4 separate regions of the Homo sapiens genome follow, and regions 1, 2 and 4 are each linked to region 3. The links are contacts of gene promoters, found by promoter capture Hi-C in blood cells and fetal thymus (Javierre and others, 2016). All regions are on one chromosome and are shown on one strand. The core of a region is centred on a gene start or on the middle of the fragment in contact, and the rest is flanking DNA. Distances in the headings are between cores, read along the strand shown. Region 1 has its middle 12 kb from the start of ZNF543. Region 2 overlaps ZNF582 (zinc finger protein 582). Region 3 holds the start of ZNF527 (zinc finger protein 527). Region 4 overlaps ZNF460 (zinc finger protein 460).

The links. The method cuts DNA at HindIII sites, captures the fragments that hold promoters and counts their contacts. A CHiCAGO score of 5 or more calls a contact.
Region 1: a fragment that was not itself captured here is called in contact with the fragment with the promoter of ZNF527 in region 3 in 1 of 17 cell types (total CD4 T cells); the score reaches 7.6 in total CD4 T cells.
Region 2: a contact is called between a fragment that was not itself captured here and the fragment with the promoter of ZNF527 in region 3, in 5 of 17 cell types (non-activated CD4 T cells, total CD8 T cells, activated CD4 T cells and 2 more). The highest score is 14.6, in non-activated CD4 T cells.
Region 4: a fragment that was not itself captured here is called in contact with the fragment with the promoter of ZNF527 in region 3 in 1 of 17 cell types (neutrophils); the score reaches 6.5 in neutrophils.

What each region holds. Positions count from the first base shown.
Region 1 is chr19:57,306,090-57,311,223 of GRCh38, forward strand. No RefSeq gene overlaps it. Among named protein-coding and RNA genes, the nearest start is that of ZNF543, 12 kb to the right of the region's middle. The HindIII fragment of the contact is 9,398 bases long and covers 1-5,134 here.
Region 2 is chr19:56,385,598-56,390,877 of GRCh38, forward strand. ZNF582 (zinc finger protein 582) reads right to left here. Exons shown (of 5, transcript NM_001320371.4): 3 at 4,778-4,904; 4 at 4,404-4,499. It also overlaps the pseudogene SLC25A36P1. Among named protein-coding and RNA genes, the nearest start is that of ZNF582, 5.3 kb to the right of the region's middle. The HindIII fragment of the contact is 1,923 bases long and covers 1,758-3,680 here.
Region 3 is chr19:37,368,399-37,373,566 of GRCh38, forward strand. ZNF527 (zinc finger protein 527) reads left to right here and starts at 2,701. Exons shown (of 5, transcript NM_032453.2): 1 at 2,701-2,828. RefSeq lists enhancers at 2,071-2,210, 2,231-2,280, 2,451-2,760 and a silencer at 2,791-3,100. The HindIII fragment of the contact is 7,295 bases long and covers 1-4,672 here.
Region 4 is chr19:57,289,849-57,294,950 of GRCh38, forward strand. It overlaps ZNF460 (zinc finger protein 460), which reads left to right. Exons shown (of 3, transcript NM_006635.4): 3 at 851-4,221. The coding sequence ends at 2,382. Among named protein-coding and RNA genes, the nearest start is that of ZNF460, 12 kb to the left of the region's middle. The HindIII fragment of the contact is 5,284 bases long and covers 1-5,021 here.

The DNA of each region.
Region 1 (5,134 bases), core at 1,958-4,457, about 20 Mb after region 3:
GAATTACATGGGAAACACATGTAGACAGTCTTCAGGCTATTAAGATTTGTCCACTTAATCTTTACTTATACATGAATAAAAAATGGGAAAACATGATAAATATAATAAACTAATACACTCAACCCTGCCCCTTGATTATATAATAGAACAAAATCAGCATGCCCGGCATGAGCCTGCCAGATTGCCAATTCCATCCTCCACCTTCAGAGGATGCCGCCATCCAGAATTTTGCCTTACTCATTTTACTTTCTTCATAGTTCGACACCTTAAATGTATATTACTAATAGTAGCTTTGCATTTTTGGCTGATTTAAAAATTGATATAAATGAAATAATGCTGTAGAGATGCTTTTTGGTATTAAGTGGATATACTGTTATTCTTAAAGATGTTTGAAATGAATATACCTTTCTAAATATCTTTTTAAAATAATACATTAAATGATACTGCTTTAGAATTCATGAACTGCATCTCATGAGAATATGTAGAGATGACGTGGGCAGGTAAAGTAAAACTTCAGGTTGAATATCCTATGATAATTTAAAAATGACAAAATAGTGTGGTGAATAATAGAGCTTGAGCACTTTAAGGCACCGTAGGGACCCCTTCAATGTAATGATGACAGTGCTGAGGTGCAGAGAAGTTAGGTAATCAGCCCAAGCCACTACTCTAAGGACAGACCCTATCTACTTTTCCTAATTTGTCAGAAGACTGCCTATGATACTACTAATAAAAAGTCCTATGAAATTGGTATTGTCATTATTTTACAAATAAAATAATCTTCAATTTTTGTTTCCTCTATGCATGGGTTACTTAGTATTTTGTAATTTGAATTTCAAGCATAATTAAAAAGAAATCAGGTATCTAGGCTGGGCATGATGGCTCAAGCCTGTAATCTCAACATTTTGGGAGGCTGAGGCAAGAGGATCACTTGAGGCCAGGAGTTTGAGGTATCTTTTGTTGATCTCTACACTGATTGTATTCTCTCTTTTATTCTATGAAAGTTAAAGATTTTTTCTGATACTACATATTGTCAGTTTTTTAAATACTCAGTTTGTGCTAAAAGAAAACATTCGGCAACTGATATCTGCTGTTCTGTATGTATCTGTCAGTCCAGATTTGTCCATTATGGTGTATGAATCTAATAGAACCTCACCAATGTTATACCTGCCTTCTTGAAATCATTACTGAGATAGCTAATATTAAAATATCCTGGTTTGTCTGTATATTTAATTCTTTACTCTCATTATACTAAATTTTTTTAATGTAATTTGAATTGATGGTAAAAATTGTATACAGGCCGGGTGCAGTGGCTCACTCCTATAATCCCAGCATTTTGGAAGTCCTATGCAGGAGGATTGCCAGAGGCCAGGAATTTGAGATCAGCCTGGGCAACATAGTGAAACTCTCATCTTTATAAAAAGTAATATTAAAATTTTTAAAAGTGTATAAACTGTAAAGTATATTTTACTGGTGTTTTCTTCCTTATTCCTACTTGTCAGATGCAAATACACATTTTTGTGTGTTTGTGTTTAGTAATTATAAGTATACATATTTCATTCTTCTATTTCATATATTTCTATGACATTATATCTTAGATGTGTAATTTATGAACTACTACTGGATTATTTTAATCCATTAGAAATTACTATTCACGCATTCTGTATTCAATTCATGTGATAGCTAATATATTTGGTTTTAAATGCATCTTATTTTGTGGTTTTCTTCTAGGCTGTTTTTTGTGCTTTCTTTTAAAAATATATAGGTTTTAATAATCTTAATTTTCTTTTAGTTTGAAATGTATATACTCATTTTATTCATTAGTCTAAGATAAGAATTGTAACACTTCTCTAACCTATTATAGAATTGTTAATACCTTTACCCTTCTCTTGAACACATCAAAGGATGTCATTGAGTGTTGGTATTGGAGTATAGCATATCTATTATTCTGCTCAATTAGAAGATATTGTTCATGTTGTATAGAGATAATAAGTAATTGTATTGATCTGCAGATGCATCCATCTCTTGGATTCTCATTCCTTCTACCACTGCAGAACTTTCACCTGTAATCACTTTCCTTTGGCCTTAAGGATAACTTTTAGGGTTACTTTTCTACTAAATTTCCAATTTTTGACCAGATATAATCTTATATTGTGCTCTTCCTGAAAAATACTATTGTTGTGGATAGAAATCTGGGTTGGTAGTTATTTCTTCAGCAATTTGACCATGTCATTCCACTGTGTCCCTGGCCTCCTGTATACTGGATGTGAATGGATACAATTATATATTGTGTTTATAGTTTTCCTGTGCTATAGGAACAGTATTCGAATCTGATGCAAAGGACAACACACCCTAGAGATTGTAACAGTGAGATGAACCAAGTGATTGGATGGGGTTTTGAGTTGCTGGAATAATGGAGTTACAGTGTACAATGCATAAGCAACATAATAAATTATATATCTGGTGAACAAATGGATGGATTGTGCCATGAACTGGTTAGATGCTTACCCACATGTCACAGAAGGTCTTCACTTGCAAGGAGGGTGGGAAATACCTCTTGGTCAGCTCTCAACTTGTGCAGCATCAGGCCTCTTTCAATGGGGAAGAGCCACACAGGAGCAATGAGAGTGGGGAGGCTTTTCACACTGGACAAAGGGATTCCAAGTACAGCAATTGTGGGAAAGCCTTTTGCTGCAAATACATACTTTTTCAGTATCAGAAAATCCATGCTGGAGTAAACCCTTATGAGTGCAGTCAGTGCTGGCATACCTTTAATAACAGCTACTATTCTATAGTTACCCAAGAGAATTCACAGCAAAGCTGTGCCTTATGAGTGCAGTGATTATGGGAAATTATTTGGCTCCAGCTCTAATCTCCATATACACCAAATAGTTCACACAGGATCAAGGCTTTAAGAGTGTGTTGGCCAGGCATGGTGGTTCACACCTGTAATCCCAGCACTTTGGGAGGCTGAGGCAGGCGGACCGCAAGGTCAGGAGTTCGAGACCAGCCTGGCCAACATAGTGAAACCCCGTCTCTAGTAAAAAAATACAAAAATTAGCTGGGCGTGGTGGTGCGCGCCTTTAGTCCCACCTACTCGGGAGGCTGAGGCAGGAGAATTGCTTGAACCTGGGAGGCAGAGGTTGCAGTGAGCCGAGATCACGCCACTGCTCTCCAGCCTGGGCAACAGAGCGAGACTCTGTCTCAAAGAAAAAAAAAAAAAGTGCTGAATGTGAGAAAGCCTCTATCACTAGACCTCATCCTGTTTAGCACCAGAGAATTCATAGTGGAGAAGACCTTATGAGTGCAGATCATGTGGCAAATTCTTTATAAAGACACATTTGTTGAGTACCAGAAAGTCCACAATGGAAAAATATCTTCTCAGTGTGGTGAACGTGAGACATTCTAAAGCCACAATTCTTACCGTGGTTAGGCTTTGTGTCCCCACCCAAATCTCATCTTGAATTGTAATCCCCATAATCCCCAGTGACCAGGGTAGGACCTGGTGGGTGGTGATTAGATCATGGGGGCAGTTTCCCCCATGCTCTTCTCCTATAGTGAGTTCTCACAAGATCTAAGGGGTTTTTTGTTTGTTTGTTTGAAACGGAATCTTGCTCTGTTGGCCAGGCTGGAGTGCAGTGGCATGATCTTGGCTCACTGCAACCTCCGCCTCCTGAGTTCAAGTGACTCTCCTGCCTCAGCCTCCCAAGTAGCTGGGACTACAGGTGTGCGCCACCAGGCTCAGCTAATTTTTGAATTTTTAGTAGAGACGGGGTTTCGCCATGTTGGCCAGGCTGGTCTCGAACTCTTGACCTCAGGTGATCCACCCATCTCAGCCTCCCAAAGTGCTAGCATTACAGGCATGAGCCACCGAGCCCAGCCCTCAATCTGATGGTTTTATAAGGGGCTCTTTCCTGTTCGCTCGTTCGCTCTCTCTCACCTGCCTCCACGTAAGACGTGTCTTTGCTTCTCTCTTGCCTTCTGCCATGATTTTAAGTTTCCTGAGGCCTCCCGAGCTATGCAGAACTGTAAGTCAATTAAACCTCTTTCCTTTATAAATTACCCAGACTCAGGTATGTCTTTATAGCAGTGTGAGAATGGAGTAATGGACTATCTTGTAACATGTTAGAGAATTCACAATGGAACAAGATCTTGTGTGTTCAGGAAATGTGGGAAAGCAGAAATTCCCACATTGCTTGGCAAATGAAAGTCAACCAGAGAAAGGCCTTTTGTAGCAGATATAAGAAAGCATACAGTGAAGGCCTAACCTCATTAGGCATCAGAAAATTTACACTGGAGAGAGGCCTTAAGAGTTCATGGAATGTGCTCATTGTTTAACATGGCATGATCCTAAGAGAAAATCTCTGAGAGTAACCTTTGAGAGGGAGCTCTAAGCCAGGATTTGAACCTCAGACATATGTGTATTCACACTGTGGAGATTACCTACAACTGCATGAGTGATCAGAAACAAATGGGGTCCTCATCTATTTCCCCTTAGTGGTTTCAGCGTGGATATTATCCAGCTGCAGCCTAAAAGATCTGAGCTGGGGCCTGCTGTGGATTTCAAGAGGTCCCCATCCTTAATAAACAGTGTTGACCCCACATGGTAGCTGAGATGGATTTCTCCAACCAGCTTCCCAATCCACCAACCTTAGATATGCCCACCTCATGATGTTCTCATTTGTGCAGAGATAAATGCCATAGTGTTTAACCCTTCAATCTGTTCTGTTCATTGTGTGGGACTGATTGAGAAAAGAAGGGCTTTGCTAGCAGGGACCACCAACTTTATGTGCCTCAGAGTGGACAGCAGGATGGTAGAGAGTAGCTCTAAGTCTAGTTTGGCCTGTTTTGCAATGCTACGCAACGTCTCTTAGGGAAAACTGTAGGGCATTGTGAGACTGATCTTGTGACCTGGATGTCAGGATCTCTGTGAGCCCTAAGCTCACCCTCATGAGGGAGTAGTTGGTGTGACAACCTCCAGTGCTTCTAGAAACAGCATAAGTTGAGTCCCTTTTTCCCAGAGGATGTGTCATATTCCATCAATTCTGTTGAGGGGTGGCTGTCTCCTAGGACCTCTATGCAGAGGACATTGCCCCTGAAATCTAAAATCTGGTAGGCATGTAAGACCTACAGGGGC
Region 2 (5,280 bases), core at 1,469-3,968, about 19 Mb after region 3:
GCCCAGGAGTTAGAGGCTGTAGAGAGCTATGATCACGCCAATGCACTCCAACTTGGGTGACAGAGGGAGACTTTAAAAAAAAAAAAAAAAGAGTTGGTGTGGGTCAGAATCACTATTGAACAATATTTTTTAAGACAGTAAATGTTTCTGTGAGACTCTAGAAAAGACAAATATAGAGTGACAGAAACCAAAGCAAATCATTGGTTTGACGGACTGTGCAGGAGGGAGCACAAGGGAACTTTTTGGGTTGATGGAAATGTTCGCTATCTTGATTGAGGTGATGGTTATGTGGGTGTATAAATTTGTCAACACTCATTAATAGCACATTTTAAAAATGCATTTTATTGACCATAAATTATGCCCCCAAAAGAGTGAATTTTAAAAAGATGATGGGGATTTCAAGATGAAAAGAGTTCCGGAGATGGACGGTGATGATGGTTGTACAACAGTGTGAATGTACTTAACACTACTGAACTGTACACTTGAAAATGGTGAGCACGGTAAATCTTGTATTTTACCACAGTTTTAAAAAATAAAAATAAAAGTGGTGTTGGAAGTGTGTGGTTGGATCTGCAACCTGCCTCAGTGCCTGGAGGACATGCAGGAGAATGAACCAGAGGAATATGCTGGTACAGTGGCAGCTATTCTCATGTGTCCGCTAGAAGTTAGAATGACATGGCTGCTGTCTTCCTCTGTGAAGCTTTTTATATCTGAAGTTTAGCTGAACACCATGGTGTTTTTTATATCTGAAGTTTAGTTGAACGCCATGGCTGAAGCCCATTATCAACTGAATGACATTTCTTAAATTTCTTAAATGTCATGCATTTACCTGAACCTTTTCATTTCTTAAAGGTGACCTTGGAAAAAGAAGGGCTTTTTTCCTTGTTTAGAGGATTAGGCCAGTTGATTGAGGGTGGGTCCTTCTAGAGCAACATACTTTGCTGATTATTCAAACTGCATGAAAAAGCTGAATGCTATAATGGACTGTGATTCTACCTGGTACATTATTTCAGCTACAGTGGCAGGTTTTACTGTACTTATAGCAACCAACCCCAGTTGACTTAAAGAGACTCAGATATAGCTTGACTACAGGTGGGCACCACCATGCTCAGCTAATTTTTGTGCTTTTTTGTAAAGATGGGGTTTCGCCATATTGCCCAGGCTGGTCTCAAACTCCTGGGCTCAAGCAATCCGCCTGCCTTGGCCTCCCAAAGTGCTGGGATTACAGGCGTGAGCCACCATCCCCAGCCTCAAAGTACTTTTTGCTGAGAATTTGATTCTGTCCTAATTTGCTGAATCATACATCATAGATTCAAGGTGATGTGCTAACAAGGATATCATTTTTAAATGTTGCCATGAAGTTCAAATGCACCTTTTCATACTTTAAATTGATATATGTATATAACCCTTAAACGTTTATGTTCATGATAATTCTGTTGAGACTTCTGGCTAAGGATGTTGCTATACTGGTATATAAAATGTGCACAATTAAACTCCAGTGTGATACTACTCATTTCAGTATATATGAGTGCTGTATTTTGTGCAGTAGCTTTATCTTAATATGGCTCTTTGTGAATGCACTTTATAGCATTTATTGAGGGTGAAAGAGCAGGAGGGAATTCTATGTTACGTATTTCTATAAAAACATTGGTCATTTATTCAACAGAACCAGTATTCCTAACATTTGTCTGGGTTTTAGATATGTTGTTCTGCAGATCTATTCACTGTAGTGATCCCAACATTATTGAAAATTACCAAGCTTTTACTGCTCTCACCAGTGAAAAACTGTACCTTCTTAAATTCTGTCAGCATGTCACATTTATTGTAATCAACAGTAACTGGATGTTTCTGAGGTGTTTTGATTGGACTCAAAAGTATTACAATCAGTTTGGAGACAAAAACACAATCTGCATTTTAGTTTAAGTATGACACTGATGACTTAAAAAAAAACTATATACAAACGTTCTATATAAAGTTTGCCTCCAAAGTATTTCTCTTTCTCTTTCTTTTTTGCAGGGGAGATGGGGTCTCATTCTGTTGCCCAGGCTGGAGTGCAGAGGCACAATCATATTATACTACAACCTCAAACTCCTAGGCTCAGGTGATTCTCCTCTGTCAGCCTTCTGAGTAGCTGGGACTACAGGCATGAGTTATTACGCCTGGCTGCAGAGGGATTTTAATATGTAAAAGTATTAACACAGTGTATTAACTTTGTGCCCACGCAAATCTCTTTTCTATCACATCCTTATGTTCTTCGACAGATTGACTTTTATGCTTCTCCTTTTAGAAACATAAAATTGTTTTATTCTTAGTTTTAAAAAACATTTGAATGTGTACCCTTGCTTATGCGAAGATTTATGACCTACTAGTCATAGCTAAATAGTCAACATTGTAAGAGCTGATACTTTTTGGTTCATGTGAGGTTTGGCATTCTTGCATTTATGTACACGGATGTCAATTGTGTGGACTTCTTCTGTATTTATGTTAACTAGCTTTTACTGAATTGTTGAAACTAAAAAAGTTAAAAACGTGCTTATAAAAAAAGGGGGGGGGGATTATGTCCAAAGAACCCAGGAGCCAGTTTGAAAGGGTGTCACTGGGCAAGTCTGGAAAACTATGAACGTTGTGATAAATAATGATAATGGGTAATAATCTGTTACAGGATAAAACAAGATTTATTTTATTCTGACCTGGAAATGAGAAAAAATATGCCACCTACTATTAATCCATATGATATAAATGAAGAAACAAATGGTGAAAGGGAGAAAGCTCTTCTTTACAGGAGTATGTGATCTAATAAATAAGAATAAAGTTTTTTTAAAAATCACTATTTTGTAACTATTAATCATATCTGATCCAAGAGAAAACTATCAATGACTTCTGAAACTAGCAGGTGAATAATTTGTGAGAAGCACAATATTTATATCCTCTCCAGGTGGACCATAAAATCATGGCTTGCCTCTATTTCTACAGTGCTTTCCCTCTGCCCACAGTGCAGAACCCAAACTTCATAACGTGGTTGCCTTTCCTAGCGTATCTTTTTTTTTCTTTTTGAGACAGAGTCTCTCTCTGTTGCCCCAGCTGGAGCGCAGTGGTTCGATCTCGGATCACTGCAATCTCCGCCTCCCGTGTTCAAGCGATTCTCCTGCTTCAGCCTCCCAAGTAGCTGGGATTATAGGCACGTGCCACCACACCCGGCTAATTTTTGTGATTTTAGTCGGGACGAGGTTTCACCATGTTGGCCAGACTGGTCAAGTGATTTGGCCGCCTCAGCCTCCCAAAGTGCTGGGATTATAAGCATGAGCCACCATGCCCGGCCCCTAGTGTATCTCTGTGTTCCTCCCTTTGCTCACTGACCTCAGCCACAAGGGCCATCCATTATCTCAGAGGTACCAAGGGCTCCCTGCTCAGGTCCTTCACACTCATTGGCTACAACTGGTATTCCCCAGCTACATCACACCTTCCATGTCTCAGCTGAAATGCCTTATCCTTGAAGAGGCCATTGGCCCTACCATGCACCCTGACTGAACCTGTTCTTTTTCTTTCACATATTAGCTCATGTCCAGTGTGTATGATTTCATGTCTATTTTCCCACTGCAGTGTAAGTTCCATGAAAGCAAGGATAATGTCCACCTGCCTCATCAATGTATACTGTGGCATATTCCATGGTGCATAATAAAAGCTTAATAAGTACTTGTTAACTGACTCCAGAATTCAAACAAACCGATACAAATTCCTTTAGAAAAATGGTCAAAGGACAAGATCATGTCCTTTGCAGGGACATGGATGGAGCTGGAAGCCATTATCCTAAGCAAACTAACACAGGAACGGAAAACCAAATACTGCATGTTCTCACTTATAAGTGGGAGCTAAATGAGGACACATGGACACACAGAGCGGGACAACACACATGGGCCTTTCAGAGAATGGAAGGTTGGGCGGAGGGAGAGAATCAGGAACAGTAACTAATGAGTACTAGGCTTAATACCTGGGTGATGAAATAATCTGTAAACAAACCCCCATGACACAAGTTTACCTATTTAACAAACCTGCACTTATACTCCTGAAGTTAAAAAAAATTTTAAATATTAAAATTAAAATTAATAAAAAAAGAAAAATGGTCAAAAGATACAGACATCTTTCCAAAGACAAAATACTTTCCTTAGGAACCACCATATTTGTACTCAGTCTAGCCCTATAATCCAGGTTGAATTTTTAAAGTGTTTCAGGAGGAAGGAGCAGCCACCTTTGTCAAATGCTGCTGACGAGCTGAGGAAAACAACACGTAAGACATAAGCTTTGAAGGTAGCAACCTGCAGGGAAGATCTTCTAAGACAAAGGGCCACTTCCAGCGGACCTGATACCTGCAGTGGCTGCTCCCTTCCCAATGATACCTCACTCACCTGGACACAGGCCTCCAGACACCACTCTCTCCACCATCCAGGGCTCTTTGCCTTGCTCTAGGAAGGAGATCACATCAGGTTTGGAAACGGCAAGACCTGGAGATGAGAAGAAACATGCCACCTGGTTATGGTGTGGGGGCCCCAGAATTCAGATCCAGGACCTGGTCATCAAGCAGGAGAGGCAGTTGCAGGAAGTGCCAGAGGAAGATGGGACAGTTGCCTGGGGGTAGGGGGATGCAGCTTCAGCCGACAGCGCCGCCCTTTAACCCCTCAAAAATGACCAACCAATCATAAGACTGAAAAGCACCCAAAAACTGACCAGGAAGGAACATGCCCAAGGATAACCTCCAAACTAACAGACGAGATCACCTTACCCAGTGAGACCAGGTTGCTGTAGGTCTCCAACATCACGTCTCTGTACAAATCCCTCTGAGCAGGTGCCAACCACTGCCATTCTTCTTGGGAGAAGACTATGGCCACATCCCTGAACAATTCTGACCCCTGGAATGACAGGCATGTATGATATATATGTATTTCAATGGTTCACAGTGGGATGAAAGGAGATGGGGCAGGTCTTTGCGGGAGGGGGGGTTGTTTTGTTGAACAAGAAGGGTGGGACTGAATGTGAAAGGTGACAGAAGAAATGGGGATGAGTAAAACAGAATGATCAAATTGTTCTCAAACATTCCTTTTAACTGCAAATCAATGCTCTGTGTACAGGTCTGGGATGAAAATTAAAATCAAGCTAAATGGAGTTTTCCTTATTGTTAAGAAACAGTGTAATAAAGCACACTGCCCACTCTATACTTGGCATACAATAAATTCTCAAGGTGAGACCTATCACTTCTATCTTTTGGAATAACAATAACAACAAAAA
Region 3 (5,168 bases), core at 1,451-3,950:
AGAGGTCATAGTAAGTTTTTATTTGTTTATTTATTTTTAAATTTTTATTTATTTTTATTGAGATGGAGTCGCACTCTGTCACCCAGGCTGGAGTGCAGTGGTGCGATCTTGGCTCACCACAACTTCCGCCTTCCAGGTTCAACTGATTCTCCTGCCTCAGCCTCCTGAGTAGCTAGAATTACAGGTGCATACCACCATGCCCAGCTAATTTTTGTATTTTTAGTAGAGACAGGGTTTCCCCATGTTGGCTAGGCTGGTCTCGAGTCCTGACTTCAGGTGATCCACCTGCCTCGGCCTCCCAGAGTGCTGGGATTACAGGCCTGAGCCACCACGCCTGATCTAAGTAAGTTTTTAAATAGCTATTTCATTTAATTCTAATTATTATGTAACAGTGGTTATCTAAGTGTGGTCAGATAATGTTTGGGGGCCAGGCACAGTGGCTCATGCTTGTAATCCCAGCCCTTTGGGAGGCTGAGGCGGGCGGATCACTTGGGGTCAGGAGTTCGAGACCAGTCTGGCCAACATGACAAAACCTCGTCTCTACTAAAAATACAAAAATTAGCCGGGCATGGTGGCGCACACCTGTAACCCCAGCTACTCGGGGGCTGAGGCAGGAGAGTCACTTGAACCCGGGAGGTGGAGGTTGCGGTGAGCCGAGATTGCACCACTGCACTCCAGCCTGGGCAACAGAGCAAGCAAGACTCTGTCTCAAAAAAAAAAAAAAAAAAAAAAAAGAGACCCGAAAGAATGAAAAACAAAAGTATTTCATTCTGGAACTAGACACAGAATGAAGACATTGTGTGAGGACCTGAGCTGCTGCAGCTACCTTGCAACCACATAAAGCAACACTGCCAATACATTGAGGACTGCAGAGCAGGAGGAAGGATTCTTGCTACAATTGGTCACCTGCTAAGCCAACTGAACTTCTTGCTAAGTGGGGAAATAAATATCTTTACTGTATAAGCTACTTTCAGTTGAGCATATAACTGTATAACTTCCTATTAAAAGCATCTTAATTGAAATTCCCAAATTCGTATCTCTAGTACCAACATTTCACTGAGCTCCACACACATATATCTAAATGCCTACTTGATATCACTCTTTTGAAATCCAACAAGCATCTGCGACTTAACATGATACCTCACCACCCACCCCATCCTAGATAACTGCCACATACTCATTTTCCCCTATCTTAGTAAATAACACTACCATTTTTCCAGGGGCTCAAGACATTTAGGCATTATATTGAACTTCTCTCTTTCCCTATATTCACAACCAAGCATCAGCAACTTCTGTTAGTTCTACACTCAAACTGTATCCCAATCTGACAATTTCTCATTGCCTCTTCCAGTGATGACCCTAATTCAAACCACCATCATCATAAGACCATTGGTCTCCAAAATAGTTTATACATAAATGAGCCTGTCATTGACATGTAGAGACCTGGGTCAACAGTACAGATGGAGGTCCCCAGCCAGTCCCCTTCTGTTCCCACTGCCATCCTTGTCCCACATCGTAAGAGGTCTTCTATTCCCACATGTGGACACTCCAGCTTGCATATCTAAGCTCTGTCTAGCCTTACCAAATTGCTCTCATTTGGCCACATTTTGTGGATAGGCAGCACATTCCACCTTTGGAAGACAGATCAAGGGAAGGGTCTTTGGACACAGAGGAGATACAGGCTCTGGAAGCAGGCTGGAGTCCATTTGAACAGGAAATCCTGGGGATTTGGATACCCAGAGCATGGTCTGAAAGAAGGTTGTGAGATCTTTGCAGGCATGTTTCTGCCTATGGACTTTCACCAGGAAGGAAACTGCTTGACTAGAGGAGGGCCAAAGTGTGGCCTTTTGTATGTTTAATAATATTAAAATGTTAAATATATTATTTTGACCAATTGAGAAATAATAATAATAATAAAATAGGCCGGGTGCGATGGCTCATGCCTGTAACCCCAGCACTTGGGGAGGCCGAGGCAGGTGGATCACAAGTTCAGGAGATGAAGACCATCCTGGCCAACATGGTGAAACCCCATCCCTACTAAAAATACAAAAATTAGCTGGGCGTGGTGGCAGGTGCCTGTAATCCCAGCTCCTCAGGAGGCTGAGGCAAGAGAATCGCTTGAACCCGGGAGGCGGAGGTTGCAGTGAGCGCCGAGATTGCCTCAATAAAAGATACCACAGACCCCGCCCATGGCAGGAGATGGGGGTGAAGGAACAGTAAGACCAGGAGACAGTCAGATACACATCGGATCAGTGGTATCCTCACAGTAACAGAAACGGTCACCCCCAATGTCAGCCACAGTCTCTTTCATCCACAATCACTTTCACATTCAGCTACCCACAATCACGGGACGTGATTTAAAATACAGAAGCTCCCTGCACTGACAAAATCCGCCGCTCCTTTCGTCGGCAAGCATAAAGGTGTGCAGCAACAGTCACACACGAACCACCACACCCAAGCATTCAACCAGTCAGCCCCGCGCGCAGCCTGGCCGCTTTCCCCAACACAGCAGCTCAAGGTCACTGGAGAGCCTACGACCGCACACAGCCCTCTCCGGTACCTGCCCCCGTGGCGCAGGCGCGCAGTGGAGGGGGCCGCGGGGTTCTCTGGGAGATGTAGTTCAACGATGACGGCCGTGGCGCAAAGCGTTCTGGGGCTCGTGGTTCGCGGGGTCCATGGGGAACGCGGTGTCGCTGGTTCAGATCTCGCAGAGCTCAGAGTCCTGCATGCCTCAGTCCTCGCCTCGCTCCTCCTCGCGGAGGATTCTGGGAGGTGACGTCGCGGGTCTCGGTCGCGGGGCCCGTTTGCAGAGCCCGCGGCGCCGGGAGGTGAGTGGGGCCGGGCCCCGGGCGGGAGCGGGAAGTCAAGGGCGGGCTCCGGGTGGCCCGGCCGCGCCAGGGATGGGAACCCGGCAGGAGTCGCTGGGGAGGCCGTGTGTGTTTCACTGTATTACCAACTATGTGACAGGCTGCGGGTGTGACAGAATGTGATCTTGTGTCACTGTGTGTGTGTGTTTGTGCGCGTGCGCCCGCTTGTGTGTGACTGTAACCATCTGTGTCTGGGGGTGAAACTGTGAATATGTGTGTTTGTGTGTGACTGTCTCTGCAGGTGTAGCTGTGTATGTGTTTATGAGAGACTGGGGTGTGACATTGTGTGTTTGTGTAAATGCATGTGTGTGGTTATGTGACCACCTGTTTCTGCGGATACAATTGCGTTTGAATGTGTGTGACAGCAAGTGTGATTGTGCGACTATGACCATCTGTCTCCGCAGGTATAGTTTTGTATCAGTAATTGTGACAAGATGTGTGACTTCTGTGGTATGCTACTTTGTGTGTGATTGTGTGTGATTGTTTATCTCTGTTGGTGTAGTTGTATGTTACCATCTATCTTTGTGCTTATGTGGCTGTGTATTGTGTGAGATTATGGGTGTGTTTGTGTGACTCTATACATTTGTGATTGGGTGAGAATTTGTGTGTATATATGAGATTGTGGGATTGATGTATGAAGCACAGAAATATTAGAATTACCCAAGTTCACACAGTTAACAAGTGACAGCACCAGAACTCAAACCCAAGCAGTTTAGCTCTAGAGGTCTCGCTTTTTTTTTTTTTTTTCTCTTGAGATGGAGTCTCACTCTATTGCCCAGGCTGGAGTGCAATGATGCGATCTCGGCTCACTGCAACCTCCGCCTCCCAGGTTCAAGTGATTCTCCTGCCTCAGCCTCCCAAGTAGCTGGGATTACAGGCGCGCACCACCACGCCCAGCTAGTTTTTGTATTTTTAGTAGAGACGAGGTTTCACCATGTTTGGCCAGGCTGGTCTCCAACTCCTGACCTCATGATCCGCCCACCAGAGCCTCCCACAGTGCTGGGATTACAGGCGTGAGGCGCTGCGCCCTGCTGCAGTTTTTATGGACAATTTCAAGCTGCACTACACTAAGGAAATAACTGCTAGGGACTGAGTTGCCTAGTGCAAAGTAGTCCAGAATTAGGGGGTGAAATTAGGGGGTGATGTATACTGAATTCTAGGTCAACCACAGTTGTCCCTTTCTTTTCTTTTCTTTTCTTTTCTTTTTTTTTTTTTTTTTTTTTTTGAGACAGAGTCTTGCTCTGTCCTGTAGGCTAGAGTGCAGTGGTGCAATCTCGGCTCACAGCACCCTCTACCTCCTGGGTTCAATCAAGCCTCCCACCTCAGCCTCCCAAGTAGCTGGGACTACAGACACATGCCACCACGCCCAACTAATTCTTGTACTTTTTGAGGAGATGGGGTTTTGCCATGTTGCCCAGGCTGGTCTTGAATTCCTAGTCTCAAGTGATTTGCCCACCTTGACCTCCCAAAGTGCTGGGATTACTGGTGTGAGCCACTGTGCCCAGCCTGTCTCTATTTTTACAATGAAGAAATGTTGGCTCTAAGAGGACAAGGAACTTACTTCAGATTGCCCAGTTTGTTGTTGCTTTAGTATTAAAATTTGGCGATGTTTCCCTCAGGCTGCATTTCTGTAGAGAAATAAAGGTAACACCTGCCATCTCTAAAGATGCCTCTCTAAGGAATATATGGCATTGATTACTCGGGTTGTGTTGAATATTTCCCATTCAGACATCGTGGCCTCTCAAAAGAGGACTGGTTTTGAGGTCACATTTCAGTTGGACCCCGGACTTTGAGTTGGTTGTTTAAGCTTCTGGAACCTCCCTTTTACTACCAGTAAAGTGGAGATATTAATACCTATCTTTGTAGTTTTGTGGAGCAGTAGTAGTTCTGAGGATTAAATGAGATAATGACACAATGAGATAACCATGTGTGACAGTCTCTCTATCTTTGTGCTAATACGGCTGTGTGTGTGAGAGAGAGAGATTATGCCACCGATTGTGTAAATGTGTATATGTTTGTGATTGGGTGAGAATTTTATGTGTATGTGAGATCACGGGATTATGTCGGACCTAGTCTGATTGTGAGGCACAGGAAGATTAAAATTACTTGCCCAACACAGCATGAGTTAACATTGTATATTTATATTACATAAGGCACAGTAAAATTTATTTATTCATTTATCTAATTTTTTGAGAGACTACAATGGTCTGGTGGTGTTCTGTCATTAGAATACACCTGTGAACCAAACAAAACCTAGTTCTCTTGGATCTTACAATCTTGCATGGGAAGAGAAACAATAAA
Region 4 (5,102 bases), core at 1,130-3,629, about 20 Mb after region 3:
CAAAAAATTTAGCCAGGCGGGGTGGCTCACACCTGTAATTCTAGCATTTTGGAAGGCCGAGGCAGGCAGATCACCTGAGTTCAGGGGTTCTAGACCAGTCTGGCCAACATGGTGAGACCTCATCTGTAAAAATACAAAAAAATTAGCCCAGCATGGTGGCGCACACCTGTAATCCCAGCCACTTGGGAGGCTGATTCAGGAGAATTGCTTGAACCCAGGAGGCAGAAGTTGCAGTGAGCTGAGATCATGCCACTGCACTCCAGCCTAGGCAACAGAGTGAAATTCCATCTAAAAAAAAATAAACAAAAAAAAGCCAAGCGTGGTAGCATATGCCTGTAGTCCAGCTACCTTGGAAGCTGAGGTGGGCAGATCCCGGGTGATCCGCCTCAGCCTCCCAAACCAAAGTGCTGGGATTACAGGCATGAGCCACCATGCCTGGCCTTTTTTTGAGATGGGTTTCCCTCTGTCACCTAGGCTGGAGTGCGGTGGCTCAGTCTTGACTCACTGCAGCCTCCACCTCCCAGGTTCAAGCGATTCTCCTGTCTCAGCCTCCCCAGTCGCTGGGATTATAGCCGCCCGCCACCATGCCTGGCTAATTTTTGTATTTTTAGTAGATATGGGGTTTCACCATGTTGGCCAGGCTGGTCTCAAACTCCTGACCTCAAGTGATCCGCCTGCCTTGGCCTCCCAAAGTGCTGGGATTACAGGGATGAGCCACTGTACCCAGCCCATCAAATCATAGCTATTTTCAAATCATCACTATTTTCATCTTATTGTTCTCACCAAAAAGGTGGTTTCATTTCTTCTGTACTATCTTAATAAGTTCTTTTGTGTATTGTGTTCCCTTCAGGTGACAGCACAAAACCTGAGACCGTAGAGCCTATCCCTTCTCATCTGGCCTTGCCTGAGGAAGTCTCACTCCAGGAACAGCTGGCACAGGGAGTCCCAAGATACTCCTATTTGGGGCAGGCCATGGATCAAGATGGGCCATCTGAAATGCAGGAATACTTTTTGAGACCAGGGACAGACCCACAGAGTGAGAAACTCCATGGGAAAATGAGCCTTGAACACGAAGGTTTGGCGACAGCTGATGGTATTTGTTCAATGATGATACAGAACCAAGTCTCACCAGAAGATGCTCTCTATGGATTTGACTCATATGGACCAGTTACAGATTCCTTGATTCATGAAGGGGAAAATTCCTATAAATTCGAGGAAATGTTTAATGAGAATTGCTTCCTTGTTCAGCATGAGCAGATTCTCCCTCGTGTGAAGCCCTATGATTGCCCAGAATGTGGGAAAGCCTTCGGCAAGAGCAAACACCTCCTTCAGCATCACATCATCCATACTGGGGAGAAGCCCTATAAATGCCTGGAGTGTGGGAAAGACTTCAACCGCAGGTCACACCTCACACGGCACCAGCGGACTCACAATGGAGATAAGCCCTTTGTGTGCAGTGAATGTGGAAGGACCTTCAATCGCGGGTCGCACCTTACACGGCACCAGCGGGTTCACAGTGGAGAGAAGCCTTTTGTGTGCAATGAATGTGGAAAGGCCTTTACCTACCGCTCCAATTTTGTCTTGCATAACAAGAGCCACAATGAGAAGAAACCCTTCGCATGCAGCGAATGTGGAAAAGGCTTTTATGAGAGTACAGCCCTCATTCAACACTTCATTATCCATACTGGGGAGAGGCCCTTTAAGTGCCTTGAGTGTGGGAAGGCCTTCAACTGCAGGTCACACCTCAAGCAGCATGAGCGGATTCACACTGGTGAGAAGCCCTTTGTGTGCAGTCAATGTGGAAAGGCCTTCACTCACTATTCCACCTATGTCCTGCATGAAAGAGCCCACACTGGAGAAAAGCCTTTTGAGTGCAAAGAATGTGGGAAAGCCTTTAGCATTCGAAAAGACCTCATTCGACACTTCAACATCCACACTGGAGAGAAGCCCTATGAGTGTTTACAGTGTGGAAAGGCTTTTACCCGCATGTCAGGGCTCACAAGGCACCAGTGGATTCATACTGGAGAGAAGCCGTATGTATGCATCCAATGTGGGAAAGCCTTTTGTCGGACCACAAACCTGATTCGACACTTTAGCATCCACACTGGAGAGAAGCCCTATGAATGCGTGGAGTGCGGGAAGGCCTTCAACCGCAGGTCACCCCTCACAAGGCACCAGCGGATTCACACTGCAGAGAAGTCCCACGAACCCATCCAGAGTGGGAACGTTTCTTGTGAGAGCACAGATCTCATTCAACACTCCATCATCCACACTGAGAGTAGCCCAGTGAGTGCAGTGAATATGGAAACGCCTTCAATTGCCGCTCATTCCTCCTCACTCGACATCAACGGATTCATAGTGGAAGAAACCCTACCATTGTAACAGATGTGGAAAGACTTTTTACGTACACTTCAGTCAACATCCAAGAATTCCTATTAGCGAAATAGTTTTTTAATATAACCACTGAAGAAAATCTGTGGTGAGAGGAAACATCTTACCATCTGGTCATTCATACTGAAGAGAAACTCCATAAGTATCATCTCTGTGGGAAAACCTGTTTTAGATCATCATTTGTCATCTAAACAATTATGTTAGAAATTGACACAGCCAAGAGTCTTATTCTACATCTGATAATTCACCCATGAAAGAGACCCAGTGGTTACTGTGCACTTAGGAAAACCTTCAGCCACATCTTTCTTATTAGTTTACAGTGAAATGTTATCTCAGGGACATTCAAACAAAGGAGGAGGAGTCATAGGGAAGAGAAAGAAATGGAAGCACAGCTTCTTTCAGACTTCCCTGACAAGCCCATGGCAATTTGTCATCCCCTCCTTATTTTATTTGGGAGAGGGAAATGTTTCAGAAACAAAAGGGCCTCATCCCCTTTATTTTCCCTGTGTATACATTCACTGCTGTCCAGTGCTGTAGACAAACGGTTTGTTTGAAAACATTTTGTGAAAGCCTGCTTTGTTCCACAGCATTGTCTCCACTCTTGAGGAGCAGAAGCATATATCTTTATGAGAAAGATGGAGGCTTGAGTTATGAAATACTTTTACATTTAAGGAGATAAAGGATGTACATATGAATGGGCACATTTTACTGCACACTTCAGACGCTTTGACTTTTTTAAAAAAATTGTTTCTCCGTGTGTCTTTAACCACCCAGTACCATACTTTTTTCTTGATCTGGATCTACTTGTCAATTTCTTCTTTATTTTTCTGTAGGATGGAGATGATATTGTAGCTGTTTGTACATAATGTAATCCAGGGAGTCCTAATTCTTCCCTCTGATTGTGGTTTCTCAGCTTTTTTACTGCTCTTTAGAGAGAGTAAATAGTTCAAAATTCACCTCAACAATTTTCTAGAGGTCAATTTGGAACCAAAAATGAAATAAGACATGTAGCTAAAGTAAGTTAAAAGATTATGATAAACTCAGAAAATAAACACAGAGAAGGAATCTCATTTTTCAGTCTTACAGAAGATTGTGTGAAGGCTGACTATACATAAAGTGACTGGAATTTTAACAGGTGAACCTGCATATGTATATGCAGGTAGTTGTCACCATGGATTGAGTCCAGTCGTAGTAATTAATATGTTTAATCAGAATATTTTGGAATTTCTCTTTTGGTATTCTTTTTGTTTCTTTTATTGTTTTTAATTGACAATGTTTATGGGGTTTGGTGTGATATTTCAATACATGTGTGCTAAGAGTAATGATCAAATCAGGGTAATTAGCATATCCATCTCAATCATTTATCATTTCTTTGTGTTTAGAAACATTCACAGTCTGCTTTTCTAGCTATTTGAAAATATAAAATGTATTATTGCCAATTGTACTCATTCTGCAGTGCCACAGAACACTACAACTTATTCAAATGGAATCTTACTTGCTGTAATTTTGTATTTGTTAACCAATCTCTATCTGCCTCTCTGCTGTCCTTCCCAGCCTCTGGTTACCACCATTCTCAACCTTTTATGCTTGCATATGAGTAGAAACATGGAGTATTTCTCTTTCTGTGTCTAGCTTATTTCACTTAATGTCTTTCAAGCTCATTCATGTTGCTGTGAATGACAGGTTTATTTTTCATGGCTGAGTAGTATTCCATTGTGTATATATGCCATGTTTTCTTTCTTCATTCATCTGATAATGGACACTTAGACTGATTTCTTAGCTATTATGAATAGTGCTTCAATAAACATAGGAGTGTAGATCTCTCTTTGACGTATAGATATATTTGTTTTTGCATATATGCCCAGTAGTGGTATAGATCATTACCAGTGGATCATATGGTAGTTGTATTTTTAACTTTTGTTTATTTTTCATTTTTTAAAATGGGGTCTTGCTGTGTTATTCAGGCTGGTCTCAGACTCCTGGGCTCAAGCAGTCCTGCACCTCAGCCTCCTGAGTAGCTGGGACTACAGGCACACACCACCGTGCCTGGCTATAGTTTTAGATTTTTGAGGAACATTCATACTGTTTTCCATATGGCTATACTAATTAGCATTCCTACCAGCCATATATAAGAGTTCCCCCTTTTCCATGTTCTCAGCAGCATTTTTTATTTTTTATCTTTGGTAATAGCCATCCTAACTGAGGTGAAATTATATCTCATTGTGGTTTTGATTTGCATTTCCCTGATTAGTGATGTTGAGCATTTTTTCATATACTTGGCCATTTGTATGTCTCCTTTTGAGGGATGTCTATTCACCTTATTTACCCATTTTAAAATCAGATTTTTTATTTTTATTTTTTTTGCTATTGAGTTCCTTTTATATTCTGGATATTAATCCCTTTCAGATGAATAGTTTGCAAATATTTTATCCCACTCTACTAGTTGTCTCTTCATTCTGTTGTTTCCTTTGCTGTGCAGAAGTTTTTTAGTTTAATATAATCCCTTTGTTTATTTGTGCTTTTGTTACCTTGATTTTCAGGTATTCATAAAATCCTTGCCCAGACCAATATCCAGAAGCATTTCCCCTATGTTTTCTTCTGTAGTTTCATAGTTTTTGCTCTTACATTTAAGCTTTCAAACCATTTTGAGTTGATTATCCTGAGAGCATAGATTCAAATTGCCCTAAAAATACATTCCCAATTTTTGTTTT